Linked DNA regions of Homo sapiens: regions 1 and 3 are each linked to region 2. The links are contacts of gene promoters, found by promoter capture Hi-C in blood cells and fetal thymus (Javierre and others, 2016). All regions are on one chromosome and are shown on one strand. The core of a region is centred on a gene start or on the middle of the fragment in contact, and the rest is flanking DNA. Distances in the headings are between cores, read along the strand shown.

Region 1 (4,528 bases), core at 1,279-3,778, 240 kb after region 2:
ACACAGGCGGGATCTTTGCTTTTTCAGAATTGTAATGGCTCCCCATTTGCCAATAGCGATGCCTGCTTTTCCCTGGCCTATGCTGTCATCATGCTTAATACTGACCAGCACAACCACAATGTTCGTAAACAGAATGCACCCATGACCCTGGAGGTAAGCTTGGGTCCCAGTCAAGGCAAAGAAGACCCAGCACAGCTTGGGAGGTAGCAGGAAGGACATAGGATTTCCAGTGGGCATGATGGATGGGGTTCTGTCCAAGGGAATCAGGAAGGGCTGGCCAACCTAGAAAAGGGACTGGGGTGGGGAAGTGGGTTTTTTCGCTTACCTTTTCCTAAGTCCTATTTACTGAAAACCCAGGAGTTCCTTAGGTGGGGCTTCAGTGTTGACACAAGGGGAAAAAACTTACTGGCCTGTCTCTAGGAGTTTCGCAAAAATCTGAAAGGTGTGAATGGAGGCAAGGACTTTGAGCAAGACATCCTGGAGGACATGTACCATGCCATCAAGTGAGTATACATAGAGAATAGTGCAGTATCTCTGTTAAGAAGAAGCACATTGCTTCCTTTCCCAGTTTTTAGAGTCATGTCAGACTGCAGTGACTCACATGCCCTGGATTTAGCCTCAGGACTTAGTTGGGCAGCCCCCTCTCTGCCAACTGTTTCTTCCTTAAAGAAGCCCAAATGATATTGGGACTCTAGTACTCTAAGCCAGGGTCCAAAGTGCTGCTCTTAAGTAGGATATCATGGCCCCATTTTCTGAACTTAAAACAGGTACATTTTCCTGTATAGATTACAAGATGCTGGCTGGTAGAGAACCCAAGATGGGCACTGGAGTGTGAGGCCCAGGTTACAGGTCAGAAATGGGCCACTTAGTTTTTTACTGTAAATCAGAAAAGGTAGAATTGTTCATTTTATCACACCTAGTAAGAATGTGTGATCTTACTATAGAACTAAAGGCCTCACTTACAGATAGGGCTTTGAGATTATGGGACACTTCCTTTCTTTCTGTCTGCTCCCACTGGTGGGTGGAAAGCAGACCACTGAGCTGCAGTTCTGATGACCTCTCATCAGTGGAGAGTGCTAGTATGGATGAACTCCTAGTCTTGGTTTGGAACTAGTCAGGTTCAAAGCAGTGCAACTGCTCCTTCCCTTACCTCCTGACAGGAATGAGGAAATTGTAATGCCTGAGGAGCAGACAGGCTTGGTTCGGGAGAACTATGTGTGGAATGTGCTGCTTCATCGAGGTGCCACCCCTGAGGGCATATTCCTGCGTGTGCCTACTGCCAGCTATGATCTTGACCTCTTCACCATGACCTGGGGCCCCACTATTGCTGCTCTCTCTTATGTCTTTGACAAAAGCCTTGAGGAGACAATCATCCAGAAAGCCATCTCAGGCTTCAGGTAGCCCAGCTTTGGCCTTGGTCTTCACCTCCCACTAGCTCTGTGAGCTAACATGGTTTTCTCCATGCCTCTCTGACTCCTACTGTTACTTCATTAGAATGGGGTTCCCCCTGAGTTTTTGGAGGGAGGCTGAAGCTTGGGTAGGCTCAGTCTTAAACAGAAACAAAATTAAAAGGTTTCTTCCTGGGACTGACTGGGGAAGAGCCCCATGCAAGCTCAGGGACTTGGAAGGGCTGCTTGGCCTTCCAGTGACTCTGTTTCTGGGATGGGGGGTAACATTACAGGAAGTGCGCCATGATCTCCGCCCACTATGGCCTCAGCGATGTGTTTGACAATCTCATCATCTCTCTATGCAAATTCACAGCTCTCAGCAGTGAGGTGAGCAGGTGCAGGAACTGTGTACTTGGAGCTCCAAAGGAGGACCTCTCTTTTAGCCATGGATCTACCCTTATCAACAGACCTGGTTGCCCTCAGCGTCTTCCCTCACTGCCCCCACTTGAATATACCAGAGCTTAGGCCATTTCTGTCTTGCACACTCTGGGATAAAACTAGTGTTACTTCATGTAATGGGGATGGGAAAGGAGATACAGGAGTGGGGAAGGCCTTAACTAGGTTAACCCACTCCCACCAGTATTATGGGGGATTGAAGCAGAGCCAACAAAAGGACCTGAGGGAACCATCATAGGCAGAGACCTAAGAGATTTTCCTTTCCAGACATTAGCTCGGCCTTAAGTCTGTTCTCTTCCTCTTTTCCAGTCTATTGAGAACCTGCCCAGTGTATTTGGAAGCAACCCTAAAGCCCATATTGCAGCCAAGACAGTATTCCATTTGGCCCATCGTCATGGTGACATCCTGCGGGAGGGCTGGAAGAATATCATGGAGGCCATGCTGCAGCTCTTCCGAGCCCAACTACTGCCCAAGGCTATGATAGAGGTAATTCTTAGTAGGAGACTAGTGAGCGATAACAAGGCAAGAGCTGCAACATTGTATGCTACCTGTACATAGAAGTAAGTGGTTGAGAGTAATGTTGGGCCTGATGCCTGCCACAGCTCACCAGGAATGCCTCAAATGTAAGACCACAGATCTTGGGGGATAGCTGTAAAAGAAGGCTGGTAGATGCCATTGCCAGTCACCAATTGGCACAATAGCATAGGGGCAGAAGACTAGAGGAGGAAATCCAGAGAACTTTGGTGGGTGGAGGCGGGCACAAATGCAAAGGACACATGGAAAGAAATTATTTTGACTTACTTTTCCAGGTAGAAGATTTCGTGGATCCCAATGGCAAGATCTCTCTACAGCGGGAAGAGACACCATCAAACCGGTAAGAGCAGACCAGAGGCTCAGGGGCTTGGGGAGGGAGAGTCAGAACTTTGGGGCTCACCAGGCCATGTGCCCTTTTTCTACAGAGGAGAGTCAACAGTGCTGAGCTTTGTGAGCTGGCTAACACTGAGTGGTCCTGAGCAGTCTAGTGTTCGGGGCCCATCCACTGAAAACCAAGAGGCCAAGAGAGTGGCCTTAGAGTGTATAAAGGTAACTGCCCATCCACCCCTGGTGAGAAAGCCTAAACACCTTCCTATTAGATGCTACTTGGTGAACTGAAGAATAAATCATCCAGGATTTGTAACCAGGGCTGACTCTGCCCTCTCCCCCTGGCTCTTGGGGACATTCTGTTCTCTTCAGCCTTTGTCAAAGACCCCCTCTCTCTTTTGCCCTCTCTAGCAATGTGACCCAGAAAAAATGATCACAGAAAGCAAGTTCCTCCAGCTGGAGTCACTACAGGAGCTCATGAAGGTAAAGGATGAAGAAAGGAAACATGGAACAACTGGCTGAATCTGGGAGGGGTGACAGGGACAGTATTATTTCTGTCAGGGCAGGGCCAGTGGTTGGCTTCTTTTCCATGCCTACTTTCCTGCTGCTGTTCCCCTTCAGGCTCTGGTCTCAGTGACACCAGATGAAGAGACATATGATGAGGAAGATGCTGCTTTCTGCCTAGAGATGCTGCTAAGGATTGTGTTGGAGAACAGGTAAGATGAGCGTAGTCTTTAGGCAGACCCCATGCTGGGCTTGTGCCAAAGGGATGGAAGCCATCTTGCTGAGTGGGCTCTGGGGAACTGTAGGCAGCAGGGGAGAAGCTTACTCATCATACCTGTCTACTTAGGGTATAATACCAATGAGTCCTGAAAGGCCTAGGGGACCTGTTGCCCAGTGGCCCCTCTGGCTGAGACTATCTTCATTCCTTTATGTCTACACAGGGATCGTGTGGGCTGTGTGTGGCAGACTGTTCGAGACCATCTATACCACCTCTGTGTTCAGGCACAAGATTTCTGCTTCCTTGTGGAGCGGGCAGTGGTGGGGTTGCTACGCCTGGCCATTCGGCTTCTCCGGAGAGAAGAGATCAGTGCTCAGGTAAGCAGAATGCATCTTGGAGAGTGGGCAGGTATGCAAGGGATTAAGGCCACAGTTGTCAATTATGAATATGGCCTGAGACAGAGAGTACATTTAGTGCCCCATAGCATGAGTCCAGTGACCAACCACAGGGCTGGTGCAGTCTAGCGGGTGGTACTGGGAGTGAGCCTGGAATGGCCTCAGGCATGGAGCTTGTGTTTGGCACCTCAGCCTCCTATGAATCTGCTTTGTAGGACTGGCCTGCTACTGCCTTATAATAGTCTCAGCCCTATACCTGGTTTCCTGTCATGCTTATGACCCTCTTGAGATCTCTTTGCTTAACTACAAAAAACAACAAGCATAGAACTAATAAGTGGATTCAACAAGGTCACAGGATGTGAGATCAATACACAAAAAGTAATTATATCTCTACATGCTAACAATGAACAATATGGAAACTGAAATTTAAAATACAATACCATTTACAAGGGTTCCAAATAAAGTGAAATACTTAATATATAGCTGACAAAACATGTATAAGATTTGTATGATGAAAACTACAAAACTACAAAATAAATTGAAGAAGATGTAAATAAATGAAGAGGCATACTATGTTCATGGATTGGAAGGCTCAACATAGTAACTTTGTCACTTCTCCCCAAATTGATCTGTAAATTCAACATAACTCCTATAAAAATCCCAGAAAGGTTCTTGTAGACATAGGTAAGCTTATTCTAAAATTTAGA
Region 2 (4,873 bases), core at 2,242-4,741:
TCCTCTCAAAGCCTTATCACCATAAACCAGTAGCATTTTATTTTTTTTTAATTTTTATTTACTTATTTATTTTGAGATGGAGTCTCGCCCCGTCGCCCAGGCTGGAGTGCAGCAGCGTGATCTTGGCTCACTGCAACCTCTGCCTCCCGGGTTCAAGCGATTCTCCCTGCCTCAGCCTCCTGAGTAGCTGGGATTACAGGTAGGCGCCACCACGCTTGGCTAATTTTTGTATTTTTAGTAGAGACAGGGTTTTGCCATGTTGGCCAGGCTGGTCTTGAATTCCTGACCTCGGTGATCCGCCTGCCTCGGCCTCCCAAAGTGTTGTAATTACAGGCGTGAGCCACTGTGCCCAGCCTTAGAGCATCTTTTAGAGTATGCATCTTCCACACAGGAAAAACTATGCCATCTGTATTAATCTTGCTGGCTGCTCATAGGCAACTTTATTTCAAACTTTATTGTTGCTCCTCATATGACTATTTTATACAGAAAACTGTGAACAAGACTCAGTTTCCAAATTAGTGGCTTTTAAAGCCTTTTTGAGAAGACAAAGTTAATTCACCTGAAACAACTAATTAAGAAACAATTAGGCTGGGCGCTGTGGCTCATGCCTGTAATCCCAGCACTTTGGGAGGCCAAGATGGGCAGATCACGAGATCAGGAAATCGAGACCATCCTGGTTAACATGGTGAAACCCCATCTCTACTAAATATACAAAAAAATTAGCCAGGCGTGGTGGCAGGTGCCTGTAGTCCCAGCTGCTGGGGAGGCTGAGGCAGGAAAATGGCATGAACCCGGGAGGCAGAGCTTGCAGTGAGCCGAGATCGCGCCACTGCACTCCAGCCTGGGTGACAGAGCAAGAATCCTTCTCAAAAAAAAAAAAAAAAAAAAAAAAAACAACTAAACAGGGCTGGGCGCAGTGGCTCACGCCCGTAATCCCAGAACTTTGGGAGGCTGAGGCAGGCAGATCACCTGAGGTCAGGAGTTTGAGACCAGCCAGACCAACATGGAGAAACCCCCTCTCTACTAAAAATACAAAATTAGCTGGGCGTGGTGGCACATGCCTGTAACCCCAGCTACTCAGGAGGCTGAGGCACAAGAATCACTTGAACCTGGGAGGCGGAGGTTGCGGTGAGCCGAGATTGCGCCATTGCACTCCAGCCTGGGTGACAAGAGTGAAACTCCATCTCACACACAAAAAACAAAACAAAAGAAACAACTAAACAGCCAGGCACACTGGCTGACACCTGTAATCCCAACACATTGGGAGGCCAAGGCAGGAGGATCTTCTGAGGCTAAGAGTTGGAGAACAGCCTGGGCAAGATGTGAGACCCCCCAAGAACCCCCAAAAAATTAGCTGGGCATGGCCAGGCGTGGTGGCTCACCCCTGTAATCCCAGCACTTTGGGAGGCCGAGGCAGGCAAATCACGAGGTCAAGAGATCGAGACCGTCCTGGCCAACATGGTGAAACCCTGTCTCTACTAAAAATACAAAAACAAATTAGCTGGGTGTGGTGGTGGGCACCTGTAGTCCCACCTACTCGGGAGGCTGAGGCAGGAGAATCACTTGAACCTGGGAGGTGGAGGTTGCAGTGAGCCAAGATCGCGCCACTGCACTCCAGCCTGGTGACAGAGTGACACTCCATCTCAAAAAAAAAAAAAAAAAAATTAGCTGGGCATGGCAGTGTGTACCTGTAGTACCCAGCTACTCTGGAGGCTGAGGCAGATGGATCCTTTGAGCTTGAGAGATCACAGTGAGCTATGCTATGATCTGCCACGGCACTCTTGCTCACCGCACTCCACACTGCAGCCCTGGGTGACAGAGTAAAACCCTATTGTCTAACAAAAAAAAAAAAAAGAAAGAACATCTAAGAAAAGGTCCAGAAAAGGTCCTCTCTTTTCATGAACATGTGTGGGGATGTATAGTGATGCAATATTTCTAAAGGGCAATTTTCTACTGTATTTCAAATACATGCATTGTTTAACTCGGCACTTGAATTTCATGGAAACTATTCCACAGAAAGATTGCACAAAAGTGCAAAGGTACATGTACATGACATATGCAAGGGTGTTCATCATAATAATATGTAATAGTGAGAAACTGTAAACAACTTAAATATTATTTATTTTTGAGAAGAAGTCTCACTCTGTCACCCAAGTTGGAGTGCTGTGGCATGATCTTGGCTCACTACAACCTCCACCTCCTGGGTTCAAGCAATCCTCCTGCCTCGGCCTCCCGAGTAGCTGGGACCACAGATGTGTGCCACCATGTCCAGCTAATTTTTAAATTTTTGGTAGAGGTGGGGTTTTGCCATGTTGTCCAGGCTGGTCTCAAACTCCTTAGTTCAAGTGATTCACCCACTTCAGCCTCCCAAAGTGCTGGGACTACAAGTGTGAGTCACCGAGCCACGGCCAGAAACAACTTCAATATAATTTAAATAACAATACATTCATAAAATAGAACTGGTGCTAAAGGCTCAGTAAATATTTAGCTAGTGAGTGGATTAACATATTGTTACATAAAAAAAGCAAATCACCAATTTGTGCCCCTATATATTTTTCCATTCATAGAAAAAAGCGTCAATGAATACACACTAAAAGTAACAAGGGGTTTAAATCTGGGCAGTAGAACTATAATTTGCAGGCCTACTACTTTTTTTCCTCTAAACAGTCTTGTACTTTTTGAAATAATTTTTGTGCTTTGTAAAAAGTTATTTAAAAATAGCAAATATGAAGTAGCTTTTAAGTGGCAAATGAATGAAGAGTAGAGACAGTGATGGACCGTAGAAACGCAGAGCGGGATCCCTCTTGGCTAGGACAACCAAAGCCTTTCCTAGATTAAATAAGGCATGAAATGTTTTGAGGTTCAAGTATTCCAGGTCGACATATAGGCAGGAGAACACCTGTTGTCTTTAGGGAACAGCAAGGAGACCTGAAACAGCAAGAAACAAATTTGATAGAGAAGGCAACGTAAGTTTCTGAGTAGTAGCAGAGAGGGCGGAGAACGCGACATTTTCCGATTAAGTTTGCAGTACTGCCGCAATATGGGATTAGGTGAGGATTAGCGCTTGGAGCGCAAGTGCCCACTAGGGGGTGGTGTTTCAAAACATATACAGGCCCACTTGGCCCCACTTGGACTAAGGTGAAAGGAACGTACAGCAGGTAGAACGTCAAAGAGGACGTTCCAACAGTTGGACAAGTTAACGACAATAAAATACGCAAATGTTAACTTTCCCCCTAACTGCTGAGCGCTCCCTAAATCGGTATCCCAGTGTAACGCAAAACTAAGCCCTACAGGATGCCTGCAGCTAGTGCCAAACGGTCCCCACTTAAAGGGACTACTACTCCCAGGAACCTTCGCGCGAGGCCAGGGCCTTCTTCCAGGGTGCAAGTGGGTCTCGCCGCACGGCTCTCTGGGATTCGTAGTCTTGCAGTGTCATTCGGGAGTTGTAGTTCCTTTCCCACAATCGGCTGGGCGAGGCGGCGCCAGCGATCAGAGCAGCGCTGGGTGTTCAGGGGCCAAGATGGCGGCGCGCCGGGGACGGAGAGACGGAGTCGCGCCGCCCCCGAGTGGGGGCCCCGGTCCGGACCCTGGCGGGGGAGCCCGCGGCAGTGGTTGGGGAAGTCGAAGCCAAGCGCCGTATGGGACTTTGGGCGCTGTGAGCGGCGGCGAGCAGGTGAGAGGTTGGCTGGCGGCCCGCGACAGGCAGCAAAGCGGTGTGTGCCGGGCGGTGACACGTGGACGCCACAGGAAAGAGAGGAAGCGCCTGAGAGTCGATGCCGGGTGGCCGCGGGAGCCGGGCCGGAGCAAGTGGGCCCTAGGCCGTTTGCTGGGGGTAGGCGGGCAGAGGCAGCGTCTCTACGGCCATTCCTGGGGGACGCCGGAGGGGGAGAGCGGGGTGTCGGAAACATAACCCGCGGCTGGGGGTCAGGGGTTCGGACTTGGGGTCGAAGGCTGAGACCTCCATGTAAGGATGCCCAGTGAGGCTCCCCGAGCCCGGCGCCGCAGTTCCCTTTTCGGAGCCACGTGGGGTTGGGGGAGCAATTTTCCCGGGAGAACTTGTCTGCCTCCCCTCCCCCTCTAGGCGGCCCGGGCATCCACGTGGGTCGGGCTCCTGGTGGAGGGGGGCGCAGGCAGCGGGTCCACGTGGGGGCGGGGAAGGAACGTCCACGTGGCTCCCGTCCCAGGCTGTCGGGCATCTAGTATCGGCCTTGGAGCCTGGCTGACGCGAACTGGGTGTGTCTCCACGGGTCCCGCCATCTCCTGCCGGGGCTGGAGGCCCGGGCCGGGAAGGAAGGTAAGGGCTGCTAGAGTCAACTTTGTTCAGAGCCTTGGAGGTTTTTTTTTTCCCTGCTGCTTGGGTCCGCAACGTCTCTCCACTGCGGATGGTGAAGGACTCTCCAGATGTTGCGGGAGTTTGTTCCCTGCGGATGGCTGAGTGTGATGGGGAGGGTAGAGGGCTGAGGCTGAAGGGTTGTGGAGGAGTGAGTTTGTGGCGCTTCCGTCTGACCGGCTTGGGGTGGGTTGTGAGTCACGGGCATTGGCGTTTTGGTTGCCTTGCAGTCTTGCCTTATTAGTGATTCAAGGGGTATGGGGAGTGTCAACATACACCTGGGACAAGGTTAAGAAAGGGAAAGGGAATCCTCTCCTCACTTTTTCCTCCAGCATCTCTTTTGGGAAGGCATGCTCCTGTAATCTGACACGCAGAAACTGGGGTGGTCCGTACTTAAGGCTCTTCGGATTTTTTGCTGGGGATGGGAAAAGTTGGAGGCGGTTTGAGAACTGTTCAACATGTTCAACAGTTGAACATACACTGGATGAGGAGGATTCTGTTAGATATTTTTTTCTTGGCCTTCAAAAAGTGTTATTGTTCTAC
Region 3 (4,355 bases), core at 1,285-3,784, 220 kb after region 2:
GCACCACTGCACCCCAGCCTGGGCGATAGAGCAAGACCCTGTCTATTTAAAAACAAAAAAAGAAAAAAAAAAGTTTAGGTTCTCAGCCATCCCCTGAGCTTTAGGCTCAGGAACTCTCTGATTTCAGGTACCAAGAAAGAGAAAATGGGCTGGGCACAGTGGCCCAAGCCTGTAATCCCAGTACTTTGGGAGGCCAAGGTGGGTGAATCACCTGAGGTCAGGAGTTTGTGACCAGCCTGGCCAACATGGTGAAACCCCATCTCTACTAAAAATACAAAAATTGCTGGGTGTGGTGGCAGGCACCTGTAATCCCAGCTACTCAGGAGGCTGAGGCAGGAGAATTGCTTGAACCCAGGAGGCAGAGGTTGCAGTGATCCGAGATCATGCCACTGGACTCCATCTGGCCTGGATGACAGAGTGAGACTCTGTCTCAATTCAAAAGAAAGAGAGAGAAAAAATAACAACAATCTTATAATTCCTGTGACTAAAATTAGGGGGTGTTCCTGCATTACACCATGCCACCTCTGGAGCAACTTTCTCTGTCACTCACAAAGCTTTTTCATATGCCTGCCCTTTCCCCCTACTTAGGCTCCCCCTTTAGAACTAAACAGCTCTGGAAAGGATCCTTCAGAGCAGACCTAGGGCAGGAGCTAGGCAAGACCCTTGATGGTGACAACTTATTTGGCTATTTCTCGTGGCTATTTAATACATGAATGGGAGCTGAGTTCCCTGCTTAATAGCATTTGTGTTCATTTCCAGCGTGGTGCCGGTTGTCTGACCTCTAGCTTCTCCCCTCTTATTCTGTACAGCTGAAATTCTCCCTCCTGCCTACCCCCCAGCTAGTCAGCCTCCAGTCCTGTTTAGTTTATCTTTTTTCTCTCCTAATGCCTGTTAAGCTGGAAACAGGATTCTTGCTCGTCGTCATATTATTTTAAATAAGAATGAAACTAAAGAAGAGGTCTTTGGGCCAGGCATGGTAGCTCACACCTGTAATCCCAGCACTTTGGGAGGCCGAGGCTGGCAGATACCTGAGGTCGGGAGTTCGAGACCAGCCTGACCAACATGGAGAAACCCTGTCTCTACTAAAAATACAAAATTAGCCAGGCGTGGCGGCGCATGCCTGTAATCCCAGCTACTCGGGAAGCCTCAGGCAGGAGAATCGCTTGAACCTAGGAGACGGAGGTTGCAGTGAGCCAGGATCTCACCATAGCACTCCAGCCTGCCAACAAGAGCGAAACTCCATCTCCAAAAAAAAAAAAAAAGTCTTCAATCTGCTGTAATGTGGCACTCAGATATGAGTATTGGCGGCAGTGAGTGTTCATTTCCTCCTCCTGCTCCCCTAATTCAGTTGCGCCTGAACACAAAACTCCAAAAGCAACCAGAGAGAGAAGCTGTGTTGAAAGATGAAAGGAGAAAAGGCCACAAGCTTTGGCCCTACCTGGTTCTTGTTCTGAGTCAAAAACTCTTGTTTCCAGGCCCCTCGTCTATGAAATTAGTAGATTTATACTAGTGATTCCCAGAGTATGGTCCCCTGCTCGGTGGTGTTTAACTTCAACTGGGGTCTTGTTAGAAACACAAATTCTCAGGCCCCACTCTGGGCATACAAAATCAAAACTTTGTGGTATGGGTCCAGCAATTGAGAACCACAGTTTTACCCAGTGGATTTTGTGTTGAGGAGCTCATTAAAACCAGTTATGGGGCCGGGTGCAGTGGCTCACATCTGTAATCCCAGCACTTTGGGAGGCCGAGGCAGGTGGATCACCTGAGGTCAGGAGTTCAAGACCAGCCTAGCCAACATGGCAAAACCCCATCTCTACTAAAAGTACAAAAAAAATTAGCTGGGCATGGTGGTGGGCGCCTGTAATGCCAGCTACTCGGGAGGCTAAGGCAGGAAAATCGCTTGAACCCAAGAGGCGGAGGTTGCAGTAAGCTGAGATCACGTCATTGCACTCCAGCCTGGGCCACAAAGTGAGACTCTGTCTCAAAAAAAAAAAAAAAAAATCAGTTGTGGGCAAAAATTCTCAGGTAGCTCAAGGAGCCACGGGTTAGGGAACTGAAGAGGAAAAACTGTCTCTCAAAGCTAGACAGGCTGCCTTACCTTTTATCTCTCTCCTCTCCACATCACTTAATCTTTCCTTTTTCGCTGGAGCAGATCCCACCCATGAGGGCACAGCAGAGGGCATGGAGAACATGGCAGATGCTGTCACCCATGCTCGTTTTGTGGGCACGGATCCTGCCAGTGATGAAGTTGTCCTGATGAAAATCCTTCAGGTAAGCGAGAGGGAAATAGCAATTAGGCTAATGGCCAGGGGCTGGTGCCGCAGACTCTACTTACTCTGCCCACAGCATGAAACTGTGTTTTGACTCCACTGGGGCTTAGGGGAGCTACTTTGTTTCCAGACAAGCAGCTGGGGTACCCAAAGTAAAAGCTTTTTCTAAGGAAAATCAGTAAAAGCTTTATATGAAGTGATGTCAAATACCAGAAGCCTTAAATACACTTGTACCTCTGGCCGACTGTATTTGTGCCGTCCATCTCTTGGGCTCATGGGCTAGGGCTAGAATCAGTTCTGAAATATGTCAGGGTCATAAAAAGTGAAGAAACAATTCCAAGGACAAGCTTCTTGGAGACCTCTCTACCAAGCTGAGGTGAGGTCAGCATTCTTGCTAACCCCTCTCTCTTACCCTTGAGTACCTCTCAGTACCTTGTTTATCACAGTAATTCCTTTTTCTTCCTGATAGGTTCTACGGACTCTGCTGCTAACCCCAGTGGGTGCCCACCTAACCAATGAATCTGTGTGTGAGATTATGCAGTCTTGCTTCCGGATCTGCTTTGAAATGAGGCTCAGTGGTAGGTGCTTGGATATTAGCCCCTTCACCATTCCTGGGGCCAGTGTCTGAGTATGAATACAGGAGGCTGTCTTCCCAGAGAGATGGAAAATTCAGGACTTCTCCATCATCTATCTCATGCGATCATAGGGGTCTAGAAGAAATGTCTGTACTTGGCTATTGTGAAGCTAGAATAGAGACCTCAGCCCATTATGCCAGGGCAGGAGTTGGGATGGATCCCAGATTGACTTAGCCCAGGCACCAAATCACCCTCTCTTGGGGTTTCTGGGATTGACACCAACCTGCAACCCCCTAGAACACATCTATACCTCCCCTTTTTTCCCTGACTCAGTAGTGCCACCTAGTGGGCCAGTGAAGTTCTGGCTGCCAGGCTGAGCTGGAGCTGGTTTTAATAAGTTTGGCATAATCCTTGGTAAACAAGGTTTGGAGGGGAGTCTGCTCTGAGAACCCTCTTGATAATAGCACAGCAAGTAATGACACCTGTGTTATTTGTTTTTGCCTGTGCAGAGTTATTGAGAAAATCCGCAGAGCACACTCTCGTAGACATGGTGCAGCTGCTCTTCACAAGGTAAACCTGCTGCTGTTTGCTTCAGCCCGGCTGCCCAGGCCTCTTGAGTCTGCCTGCTTCCACACAGCCACGTCAGGGACCTGGCCAACCCCACAGCCGCATCAGAGGCCACTGGGATTATGGATGGGGGGTAGTTCTCTGGGCCCAGGGTTACTGAGCAAGGGAGAAGGAGGAGGGAGCTGATTTGGCCTCACGGGGAGGCAGAGGGTTATTTAATATAGGCCAGCAGACCTCATTCTGCTTCCCAAATTTGTGTCTGTTTCTGTGCAGGTAGCAGCTGGGAAAGGGAACCCAGAGAGGAAGCCAAACTCAAGGGATCATGATTTCTGTGGGAGAGGGCCAAAATTAGGGTGACTAGCAATTGTGAATTGCCTGGGACTGTCCTGATTTCAGCACTAAAAGTTCTGCATCCTGGCAAACCCCCCTCAGTCCCAGGCAAACCAAGATGGTTGGTTACCCTTTGGTAAGGCCCTTAGCCTAGGGCCTAGGAGGCCTTTTCATACTAGGCCTGTTTCCTGCACCTCCTTTCAACAGACTCACAGAAGAGCTGAGGCAATGGCTTTAAACCTTCCTCTGGGATTTCTTTTTGCTCTCAAATCTATAGATAATAATCCTTATTATCTACAGACTAGACTGCCCTTGGATCCTGCTGCAAAGAATTTTTTGCTCCTCAGGCTCAAATTTACTGGTTTCAAAACTTCAACCTGCCTGTTAATTCTTCTCTTTTGCCCACTCTCCTAGGGTTTTGATAGACTGCCCTCCCCCCATCTCTTGGCAGCAGTATTTGCCAAGTAAATATAAGCAGGAAGGAATCAGTCTCAGGATAAAAAGAGCCTCCACACTCCAAGGGCACTTACCTTGCTCTCACAACTACCTCCTTTTGTCCATGTCACACATCCCCCGATTCCTGTGGCTCTTTGATGAAGCTCTGAAAAGGATG

What was found. Contacts are between HindIII fragments. The CHiCAGO score rates a contact against its expected background, and 5 or more counts as called.
Region 1: a fragment that was not itself captured here is called in contact with the fragment with the promoter of PPRC1 in region 2 in 1 of 17 cell types (M1 macrophages); the score reaches 5.4 in M1 macrophages.
Region 3: a contact is called between a fragment that was not itself captured here and the fragment with the promoter of PPRC1 in region 2, in 2 of 17 cell types (M1 macrophages and activated CD4 T cells). The highest score is 7.8, in M1 macrophages.

The regions. Positions count from the first base shown.
Region 1 is chr10:102,367,058-102,371,585 of GRCh38, forward strand. It overlaps GBF1 (golgi brefeldin A resistant guanine nucleotide exchange factor 1), which reads left to right. Exons shown (of 40, transcript NM_001377137.1): 20 at 28-153; 21 at 421-503; 22 at 1,161-1,397; 23 at 1,682-1,775; 24 at 2,154-2,330; 25 at 2,654-2,718; 26 at 2,804-2,927; 27 at 3,117-3,188; 28 at 3,327-3,421; 29 at 3,650-3,803. Among named protein-coding and RNA genes, the nearest start is that of NFKB2, 26 kb to the right of the region's middle. The HindIII fragment of the contact is 1,997 bases long and covers 1,531-3,527 here.
Region 2 is chr10:102,129,549-102,134,421 of GRCh38, forward strand. PPRC1 (PPARG related coactivator 1) reads left to right here and starts at 3,492. Exons shown (of 14, transcript NM_015062.5): 1 at 3,492-3,673. The coding sequence starts at 3,521. RefSeq lists an enhancer at 3,315-3,594 and silencers at 3,575-3,754, 3,965-4,014, 4,045-4,164. The HindIII fragment of the contact is 8,495 bases long and covers 1-4,873 here.
Region 3 is chr10:102,349,104-102,353,458 of GRCh38, forward strand. It overlaps GBF1 (golgi brefeldin A resistant guanine nucleotide exchange factor 1), which reads left to right. Exons shown (of 40, transcript NM_001377137.1): 5 at 2,153-2,271; 6 at 2,740-2,848; 7 at 3,355-3,415. LOC107984263 (a long non-coding RNA gene) reads right to left here and starts at 2,213. Exons shown (of 2, transcript XR_001747574.3): 1 at 2,099-2,213. The HindIII fragment of the contact is 162 bases long and covers 2,454-2,615 here.